Regions from separate parts of the Homo sapiens genome. Here region 2 is linked to region 1. The links are contacts of gene promoters, found by promoter capture Hi-C in blood cells and fetal thymus (Javierre and others, 2016). All regions are on one chromosome and are shown on one strand. Each heading gives the region's core, a stretch centred on a gene start or on the middle of the fragment in contact. The rest is flanking DNA. Distances are from core to core; before and after follow the strand shown.

Region 1 (5,505 bases), core at 1,340-3,839:
CAAAGTGCTGGGATTACAGGAGTGAGCCACCGAGTCTGGCCAGAAATACTTTTTATTAGGGAGAGGTTAGTATACATTCTGATCTTCAACCAATAAAGTAACCTTCTTGAAGTACTAAAAATACTTAATTTTCCATAAGGAGAACATTACATGGAGGGTTCCATGTTTTTTAGGTTTGAAACATTTTAAAAGGAAAAAAAAGGAAGTAAAGAATGAAATATTGATTAGAAAACATAAGAAATGAGATGAAACTCCATCTCTACTAAAAATACAAAAAAACTTAGCCAGGTGTGGTGGCATGCGCCTGTAGTCCCAGCTACTCAGGAGGCAAAGGCAGGAGAATCGCTTGAACCCGGGAGGCGGAGGTTGCAGTGAGCTGAGATAGTGCCACTGCACTCCAGCCTGGGAGTCAGAGCAAGACTCCATCTCAGGGAAAGAAAAAAAAAAGGCCCGGCACAGTGGCTCACGCCTGTAATCCCAGCACTTTGGGAGACCGAGGTGGGTGGATCACGAGGTCAGGAATTCAAGACCAGCCTGGCCAACATGGTGAAACCCCGTCTCTACTAAAAATACAAAAATTAGCCTAGCGCAGTGGCGGGCACCTGTAATCCCAGCTAGTCGGGAGACTGAGGCAGGTGAATCACCTGAACCCGGGAGGCGGAGTTTGCAGTGAGCCAAGATCGCGCCACTGCACTCTAGCCTGGGTGACAGAGTAAGAGTCCATCTCAAAAAAAAAAAAAAAAAAAAAAAAAGGAAAGAAATGACGCCAGCGTGGTGGTTCACGCCTGTAATCACAACACTTTGGGAGGCTGAGGCGACCAGATTACCTGAGGTCGGGAGTTTGAGACCAGCCTGGCCAACATAGTGAAACCCCGTCTCTACTAAAAATACATAAAATTAGCCGGGCTTGGTGGCGCATCCCTGTAATCCAAGCTACTCGGGAGGCTGAGGCAGGAGAATCGCTTGAACCCGGGAGGCAGAGGTTGCGGTGAGCCAAGATCACGCCACTGCACTCCAGCCTGCGCAACAAGAGCAAAACTCTGTCTCAAACAAACAAACAAAAGAAAACATAAGAAATGACTTTGAAACACTACTTGATTTTGTTAGTTTCTTCCACAAGGAATACATTTAAAAATTTAAGTTTTTATTCTTAAAATGAGTTCTGGAAGTAAAAGAGTTAACTCTGAGATGATTAAGACTTCTAAAATCCCCAACAGAAGCAACTCACCTCAAACAGAGTCACATCTCTGTAAGAAGGAAAACTTTCAACCACCAGGTGCATTAACTTCTGCGCACTATTCTCACTTTCTCGGACGCAGTTGAGAAAAGAGCCTCCAAACTTCTCCAGCAGAATTTTCCCGGTTTCATTGAGAATCCGATGCCTCTCTTCTACTAAAGGCATGGAAACGTCTGTGTCAGAACGAAGTATATTCCGAACCTGATCCAGGGTCACTGTCGCGTAGTACGAGGCACTAGTTATTGGTATCCCTTTAGTGAAAAAATAAAATTCAGAGGACCAATGTCATACTTCCATATGCATTAAACCCTTGCTTTTACAACATGGAATTAATATGAAACCAAATGAGTGGTATAGGAATGCACCAAAAGTGGAAGAATAAAAAATCTAAAGCAAAACTCATTTTCTACTTGTTCATCTGTACTTATTCACCCATTTCTAACTATTGCAATATTACATCAGATGTATTCTGAGTAAATTGCTTTATAACATCGGTCCTTTTGTTCTTCAGGTGTCATTCAAATGGCATTCTTTATAAAACTGACTTTTATGCTACTGTAACTTTTATGCTGCAATGATAAATATTAACATCATTTTCCACTAAAATATGCCCCTTTTCATACTTCTATTTTAAGCATAAGGACTTGCAACGAACTTCAGGTTCGCTTTCCATTATTCCATCTCCCAACCCGCTCCTTGGAACTCCCCTACACACACCCCAAGTAAATGGAAACCTCAAAGGCCGTTAGGTCCGATGGCAAGTATGGCACCAACCTTCGTCGAGGGCTCTGTTGACGGCGGCGCACAGGGACCAGTACCCACTGTATGTTTTCCCTCTGTACCTCACCACACACTTGTGCTCGTCCTGCTCCGACCAAAAGGAGAAGTTGAGCGTGTCTGTCACGAACACCCAGTTGACCGCGGCCTCGTCGGCCGCCCTGGGGTTCAGCTCATGAAGGGCTTTCCACCCCTCCACGCGCAGCTCTGGCCCCGCCGCCTTGGCCAGCAGCAGCTCTGCCACCCTCCGTACGCCTCCGCTGTCAATAAACACATCCCGACTGTTTTCTGCAATGAATTTAGAGGATTCCCTGGGATTTAGGAGCCCGTCCATTCTGCCCTTTGGGACCCGGCGGGCCAAACTCTTCCCGCCCTAGGCGGGTCAAGGTCCACTCTGCGCCTTGCGCTACTACGAACCGCGCGATCACAGGGCCTAAACAAGGTCCCGCCCTGCCAGGGAGTGGCACCGAGAACTTAGTGCAGCCAAGGTAAAGGTTCTCTCCCGCGGCGTTGCCCTGATTAGGAAACCAGAGAGACCCCGGGGCAGCTCGCTGGGCAGAGGCCGCAAGCACTTCCGGGAAAGCGGTCCCGTTCACGCCCTCTCGGGCGCGCTCTCAGGCTCCGCTTCCGGTTCCAAAGGTCTGGAAACTGCTAAGGGTCCGGCGTTCACCGGCCGTGAGTTGCCCACCCTGGGAGGTGCATGGCTTTGCCATGTTTTGCCTTTTCTCACCCCGCTTCGGACAGGTGGGACTCGAAGACGGCGACTCGCCGCCTTGCCCTGGGTCGCGATGCCCCCACCCCGCTCCCACCCCTCTCCTTTCCCGCAGCCTGAGCAAGACGCCTTCGGCAACGCCCCGCATCCGGGCTCCTTGGCCTCGAAGAGCATTATGGCCGTAGATCTGGGTGCTGAGGACTGAGCCACCCCCAGACTGCGACATGGGCGGCGGTGCCTCCTTCCCCAAGCCCCAGGGAGTGTTTTTTTGTTTGTTTTGTTTTTTGTTTTTGTTTAAGTGAATTCCTGGCCCATTTGGCCGAACGAACGTTAGGATTAGTTGGAAGGTTTGGAGAAATGGATGAGGAAACAAATGTGTTAAATTGTTAAATTAACCTTGTGTGCCTGGCAGTGTACTTAAGTACTAAATCTCACCTAGGCTGGGTCATGACGAAAGCGGCTATTGTGATCCCGCTTTTGCAAGTGAAGCTGAGTGGTTCATTGATTAACCCCCATCACAGCAATGGTTTGGGCTAGGATTTAAACCTTTGATAATTGAGCCCCCTAAATCGAGGGCACTTTATGAGCCAATCACCAGTGCCAACCATTCTGGTCAGTCAAATAGTGACTATATCAGTGGCCCTACTGAGAAGACATTAAAAATGAGGAAATAAGTGTCTCACAACTGCAAACTTACACAAGTACCTTATATTAGGAGAGAGGTGTAGAAGCCAATTTAGTGATGATCCAAATTTGACTGGTGATGAAGTTTTAGTATAAAGGTATGCATTTTTTTTCCTTTTGGAGACTTAAATCTCCATGGATAACGTTCACATCTTTGAAAATCACCTATTAAAAATAATCATCAGTACCCATCTCTAGTTACCGACAGGAAAATCTTGGTATTTTTGGAGGATTCGGAGCTTTTAAATTTGTTTGTTTGAGACAGAATCTCACCCTGTCGCCCAGGCTGGAGTGCAGTGGCATGATCTCAGCTCACTGCAACCTCCACCTCCCCGGTTCAAGTGATTCTCCCTGCCTCAGCTTCCCAAGTAGCTGGGATTATAGGTGTCAGCCACCACACCTGACTAATTTTTGTATTTTTAGTAGAGATGGGGTTTCCCTATGTGGGCCAGGCTGGTCTCAAACTCCTGACCTCAGGTAATCCACCCTCCTCGGCCTCCCAAATGGAGCTTTTTTTTTGAGACGGAGTCTCACTCTGTCATCCAGGCTGGAATGCAGTGGCACAGTCTCGGCTCACTGCAACCTCCGCCTCCTGGGTTCAAGCAATTCTCCTGGCTTAGCCTCCCGAGTAGCTGGGATTATAGGTGCCCGCCACCACGCCCGGCTAAGTTTTGTATTTTTAGTAGGGACAGGTTTTCACCATGTTGGCCAGGCTGATCTCGAACTCCTGACCTCAGGTGATCCGCCTGTCTTGGCCTCCCAAAATGCTGGGATTACAGGCATGAGCCACCACACCTGGCCCCAAATGGAGCTTTTAAATTTGACAGCTGTTACCCTAGAAAAGCAGATCTTCATCACTCCAGTTTCTTCATTTTGGTAAGAAAAAGGAACTTTAAGGACTCCACTATGATACGTTTTCCAGAAAAAGTCACTAGTACATTAATACAGTTGTTAAGGAAATGTAAGTCTGTTGGCTTGGGATTTTTCCTTTCTACCACAGCACCTAAGTCTTGGGAGACAAATTGATTTAGCAAGGAAATCTAGCAATCTGCAAAATAATCCAGAAGGGTAAATAACTTAGACCCTTTTCTCTCACTGAGGTTTATTGATAGAAAAAAGTCAAATGCCGGCCAGATGTGGTGACTCACGCCTGTAATCCCAGCTTTTTGGGAGGCCAAGGTGGGTGGATCAGTTGAGTGCATGAGTTCGAGGCCAGCCTGAGCAACATGGGGAAACCCTGTCTCTACCCAAAACACAAAAAATTAGGTGGGTGTGGTGGCATGCGCCAGTGGTCCCAGCTACTAGGGAGGCTGAGGTGGGAGGATCGTCTGAGCCCAGGAGGCAGAGAGATTCCAGTGAGGTGAGATTGTGCCACTGCACTCCAGACTGTGAGAAAAAGTGAGACCCCCCCCCGTTCCCCCTCCCACCCAAAAAGTCAAATTCCTGCCTATGTTCAAGGTATTTAAGCACTAAAAGTAGTATACACAAGAATAAAACATGCCTCCTTCACTCAACTTTGAGATAAATCAAAACTGTGTGTGTCTGGGATTTTTGTTTTTGTTTTTTTAAGTGTGTCTACAAGATGCTGAGAATACAAAAATGAGTTGGGCTGGCCGTGGTGACTCAGGCCTGTAATCCCAGCACTTTAGCAGGCCAAGGATCACTTGAGCCCAGGAATTCGAGACCATCCTGGGCAACATGACAAAACCCTGTCTCTACAAAAAAAAAAAAAGAAAAAGAAAACATTAGCCAGGTGGCTGGAGCCTGTAGTCCCAGCTACTCCCAGAGGCTGAGGTGGGAGGATCCCTTGAGCCTGGGAGGCGGAGGTTGCAGTGAGCTGAAATGGCACCACCGCACTCCAATCTGGGCAACCCACTGTCTCAAAAAAAAAAAAAAAAAAAGTGAGTTCTTCACCTACTGAACATGGTTTTCCTGCTTTTTCCTTCCCAATAGATACTGTGATACTGTTTAGGAATCCATCTCTCAACTGCACTCCCTTGTAGCTTAGTTTAGCATCCTCAGACTCAAGGGTAGTCAGGACTGGTAATATCACCCTCTTGCCAGCAACTGGATTAGGTTTATGCATATTTCCCAG
Region 2 (5,505 bases), core at 1,999-4,498, 110 kb after region 1:
GAGATATCCAGGACTCAGGTCACTGAAGTGGGCACATATCCCTAATAACGCAAGAGCCTGGTAATGGAAACAAAGATTTCAAATTTGTCAATGATAAAACTTTTCTTAGTTTTTCATCTTGGAGAAAAAGAGTAAGCTAACAGGAAGTACAAAACAGGAATACATATTGCAGAATTCTTTAGGTAATACTATACTAGGTTTGTGATTGTATTTTAAGACTGATTACATGAAAGAATATTAATTAGGCCTATGAGAAGTAGCAGTATAAGTGGTTTGACAGAAATGTGAGATGAATGTATAGCAGATTTCAGCAGATAATGGCAGAAGAGTTGGGGGATAGGTCTTTTCCAAAGACTAAATGGATTGACTTGTTTATTCCGGCAATGTAAAGGAAGGAGGAATGATTGTGACTTTCTTCCTGTGATATGAAAATTGAAATGGGTTGGGCGGGGCACAGTGGCTCACGCCTGTAATCCTAGCACTTTGGGAGGCCGAGGTGGGTGGATCACTTGGGGTCAGGAGTTTGAGACCAGCCTGGCCAATGTGGTGAAACCCCATCTCTACCAAAACGATAAAAAATTAGCTGGGTGTGGTGGTGGGCGTCTGTAATCCCAGCTACTTGGGAGGTTGAGGCAGGAGAATCGCTGGAACATGGGAGGCGGAGGTTGCAGTGAACCAAGATTGTGCCACTGCACTCCAGCCTGGGTGACAGAGTGAGACTCCATCTCAAAAAAAAAAAAAACAAAAAACAAAAAGAGTAATGGGTTTATATAGATACCTATGAGTAATAGATTTTCACCATGTCTACCTAGGTCAGCACACTAAATGCCCAGAAGGATGATGTGTGGGTGAAGAAGCAGAGCAACATAATATGGGAGGGGAACCCCTTCTTGGCAGATTTTAAAGAATAAAGTAAATGGAAGTCCTTGTTTCTTCAATTAGACAGTGAGTTTTCTTTTAGCTCTATTATTTTATAGAAGTTGTAGATGTTCTTAGTTTAACTTGTGTTAGTCCCATGTTCAGAAGTAGCTTTAACCTCTATTGCCTACTACGTGACTGAAGAATAATTTGGCATTTTTCCCTTTCAAAGTGAAGCATGAGCTTTCATAAAAATCTTCCCCCATTGTTGTTACAGCATTTTGGTATGCATTTATATTTCAGTAATTTTAATGTAGTATATTAATTTTGATTATAAATGTTTCCACACACATGCCTACTGGTGGTAATATTTTATGTTTACCTTCTCGTTTGTACATTTTATTTGGGAGTAATGCATTCTGATAACTCATTAGGATACATGGATGGAAAATTTTCATTTTAAAGTAGGATAGTTTTAAGCAACATTAACATTTAATTAGAGCTCTTCACTGCATTTTATTATGAGGTTATTCTGTAATTACTCAGCAGGTCCTGGTGTTTATTAATGCAGAAGTGACAGCACATAATACAACTAAATTATTGCCACATCTCTGGAAAAGACAATTGGAAAATGGGGAACAGATAGAGGCATTGTTTAAAGAGCCTCAGGGAAAAACAGCCTCAGAACATAATCCTTATTTTCTTTTGAACCTTTTTTTTCCATGACAATCCAGAGCAACATATAGCATGTAGACCTCCCCTACTATAGGTTAAGTAGCTTACATAATGGCTCCGGCTGCAATTTTCACATTTTGCATGAAACCGTTTTCTTGCAAGAGTAGATGTGAAGTGGAGCCTGTTAGATATAGTTCTAAATTGCTCAGATACATTATATGTGGGGAGAGTAGAAACCTTCAAATAAATGCCAGAAACTGAGGTTTCTAAGAAGCTTTATGCTTTTTAAATAATCATCCTTTTCTCCTTTTTAATTAGAATACAGATATTATATTATGACCAGAGAACATAATGGTTAGAAAGCTCCATCAAATGCACTCTGACCCTTTATAACACTGCAGGGATGTGCAGGCTGTAATTTTCATATATGAGTGCCCTGAAATTCTTCTTTCCTTTTTAAGTTTTCTTTTATGCAGACCTCATAATCCTGCTGCTAATTTGATTCCCTGTCCGTTTTCCTCATTATGCCCAAGCTGCTTCTGGACACTTAAAGTGAATTGAGGCAACTATTTTGATATTGTGGGTGAAAATTAGTTTTAACTAAGACATCCAGATAACAGGTGTATGTGTATATGTGTGTGTGTTTGTGTGTGTGTGTGTGTGTAGTTGGTCTTGGGGGGTATTGACCTGAGGAGATAACATCTCTGGAATGGGCTACCTTGATAAATCACCTGAACTCTCCTCTTCGTAAGCACTAGAGCAATGACAGCAGACATTCTTGCTTTATTCCTGATCTTGGGAGAAAAATCATTCAGCCTTTCATCCCTAAATATAATGTTAGCTGTAGATATTTTGTAGGTACTTGTATTAGTTTGCTAAGGTTTCCATAACAAAGTACCATCAACTGAGTGGCTTAAATAACAGAAGTTTGTTTCTCACATTTCTGGAGCCTAGAAGTCCAAGAACCAGGTGTAGGCAGGTTTATTTTCTTTGGAGCTTCTCTTCCTGGCTTGTGGACGGCCTCCTTCTCGCTATATCCTTATATGGTCTTTCCTCTGTGCGGGCTTATCCCTGGTGCTTCTCTGTTTGTCCAAATTTCCTCTTCTCATAGAGACGACAGTCAGATTGGATTAGGGTCCACCCTAACGGCCTCATTTTGATTTAGTTACCTCTTTAAAGGTTCTGTCTCCAAACACAGTCACATTCTGAGGTACTGGGGATTAGGGCATTACATAAATTTTGGGGTAACACAATTTAGCCCACTGACAATACCTTTTATTAGGTTAAGGAAGTTCCACTCTATTTCGGTTTGCTGAGAGTTTTTAAAATCACGAATGAATATTGAATTTTGCCAAGTGATATTTTTGCATACATTGATAGGATCATGTGGTTTTCTTTAGAATGTCATAATGATGGGTTACATTGATTGATGTTTGCATGTTGAACAAGTATGTTATTCTTTTTTATATCTTGTTGGATTAAATTTGCTAATATTTTATTGAGTGTTTTTGCAAAAATATTCATAAGGCATATCATTTTATTTTCTTGTAATATCTTTGTCTGGACTTAGTATCAGAGTAATGCTGGCCTGATAAAATAAGTTGGGAAGTGTTCCCTTCTCTTTTATTTTCTGGGAAAGTTTGTTTAGAATCTGTATTATTTCGCCAGGCGCGGTGGCTCATGCCTGTAATCCCAGCCAAGGCGGGCGGATCACAAGGTCAGGAGATCCAGACCATCCTGGCTAACATGGTGAAACCCCGTCTCTACTAGAAATACAAAAAAATTAGCCGGGTGTGGTGGCGGGTGCCTGTAGTCCCAGCTACTTGGGAGGCTGAGGCAGGAGAGTGGCGTGAACCCGGGAGGCGGAGCTTGCAGAGAGCCAAGATTGCGCCACTGCACTCCAACCTGGGTGACAGAGTGAGATGCCATCAGAAAAAAAAAAAGAAAAAAGAATCTGTGTTATTTCTTAATTTTTTTTTTTGAGACGGAGTCTTGCTCTGTCTCCCAGGCTGGAGTGCAGTGGCACGATCTTGGCTCACTGTAACCTCTGCCTGCTGGGTTACAAGTGATCTTCCTGCCTCAGCCTCCCTAGTAGCTAGGACTACAGGTGCGTGCCACCACTCCCAGCTAATTTTTGTATTTTTGGTAGAGACAGGGTTTTACCATGTTGGCCAGGCTGGTCTCAAACTCCTGACCTCAAGTGATCTACCAGCCTCGGCCTCCCAAAAGTGCTAGGATTACAGAGGTGAGACACCATGCCTGGCCATTTCGTCTTTAATGGTTTTGGTAGAATTCATCAATTAAGTACCTGGAGCCTGAAGATTTCTTTTTCAGGTGATTTTTAACTCCTAATTCAATTTTCCCCAGGTTTTCTATTTCATCTTGAGTGAGTTGTTAGTTTGTGGTTTGCAGAAGTGCTCCATTTTATCTGTTATTGAATTTATGTGTGTAGAATCGTTTGCAACATCCTCTTATTATTCTTTTAATTTCTACGGTATGTCACCCTTTTTATTCCTGATGTTGGTAGTTTGTGACTTCTCTGTTTTTTCCTTTGTCAGTGTTGCTAGAAGTTTGTATTAGTCTGTTCTCTAATTGCTATTAAGAACTACCTGAGACTGGGTAATTTATAAAGAAAAAAGGTTTAATTGGCTCACACAGTTTTGTAGGCTATACTGGACGCATGGCTGAGGAGGCCTCAAGAAACTTTCAATCATGGTGGAAGGTGAAGAGGAAGGAGGCATGCCTTACACGGCTGGAGCAGGAGGAGGAGAGAGCGAGGGTGGGGGTGCTACACACTTTCGAACAACCAGATCTCGTGAGAACTCACTCACTAACCCGAGAACAGCAAGGAGGAAATCCACCCTCTGGATCCAATCACCTCCCACCAGGCTCCTCCTCCAACACAGGGGGATTACAATTTTACGTGAGATTTAGTCAGGGACACAAATCCAGACCATATCAGGTTTATCCGTTTTATTGATCTTCTTTTTTAGTCTTGATGGAAACTTATCAATCGTATTGATCTCTTAAAGGGAACTACCTCTTTGTTTCACTAATATTCTCTACTGTTTTTCTTTTTTCCGTTTCATTGATTGTTGCTTTTAACTTTTTTATCCTCTTCCTTGTGCTTGCATTGGATTTATTTTGTTCCAGGTAGAAGCTTAAATGAACTAATTTGAGACCTTCTTTCTTAATGTGAGCATTTAATGCTTTAAATTTCCCTCTAAGCTCTCCTTTAATTTCATTCCATAATTTTTGATATATTGTAGTTTTATTTTATTCAGTTAAAAATATTTTCTAATTTCCCTTGATAACTCCGCTTTGACCCATGGATTATTTAGAAGTATATTGTTTAATTTCCAAGTGTTTTGTAGATTTTCCTGTTATCTTCCTATTATTGATTTCTAGCTTAATTCCATTACAGTCAGGGAACATACTTTGCATGACTCAACTCTTTGAAATCTATAGGATACACTCTGTCTTGGTGAATGTTTCATAAGTATCTGAAAAAAATGTACAATCTACCTGTCGAATGAAATGTCCTATAATGAAATTAGATTTAGTTGGTTGATAGTATTGTTCTGTTCTATATCCTTGCTAATTTTATATCTACTAGTTCTGTTGATTAGCGAGAGAGAAGTATAGAAGTCTCCAATTATAATTTTGGATGTATCTATTTCTTCTTTTAGTTCTCTCACTTTTTAGTTCATGAAGCTTTATGTTTTTTACTTGTTCATTTGTTTGTTTTGTGACAAGGTCTCACTTTGTCACCCAGGCTGGATTGCAGTGGTGTGAACACAGCTCACTGCAGCCTCAACTTCCCAGGCTCAAGTGATCCTCCTGCCCTTAGCCCCCCAAGTAGCTGAGACTACAGGTGTGCACCACCACGCCTGGCTAATTTTTGTATTTTTCATGGAGATGGGGTTTTGTCACGTTGCCCAGGGTTGTCTCAAACTCCTGAGCTCAGGTGAT

What was found. Contacts are between HindIII fragments. The CHiCAGO score rates a contact against its expected background, and 5 or more counts as called.
Region 2: a fragment that was not itself captured here is called in contact with the fragment with the promoter of QNG1 in region 1 in 2 of 17 cell types (naive CD8 T cells and neutrophils); the score reaches 5.1 in naive CD8 T cells.

What each region holds. Positions count from the first base shown.
Region 1 is chr9:83,954,153-83,959,657 of GRCh38, forward strand. QNG1 (Q-nucleotide N-glycosylase 1) reads right to left here and starts at 2,590. Exons shown (of 4, transcript NM_032307.5): 1 at 2,012-2,590; 2 at 1,229-1,488. The coding sequence starts at 2,348. The HindIII fragment of the contact is 8,080 bases long and covers 1-5,505 here.
Region 2 is chr9:84,066,483-84,071,987 of GRCh38, forward strand. It overlaps LOC101927575 (a long non-coding RNA gene), which reads left to right. Exons shown (of 9, transcript NR_110995.1): 2 at 813-945. Among named protein-coding and RNA genes, the nearest start is that of RMI1, 88 kb to the left of the region's middle. The HindIII fragment of the contact is 2,886 bases long and covers 1,806-4,691 here.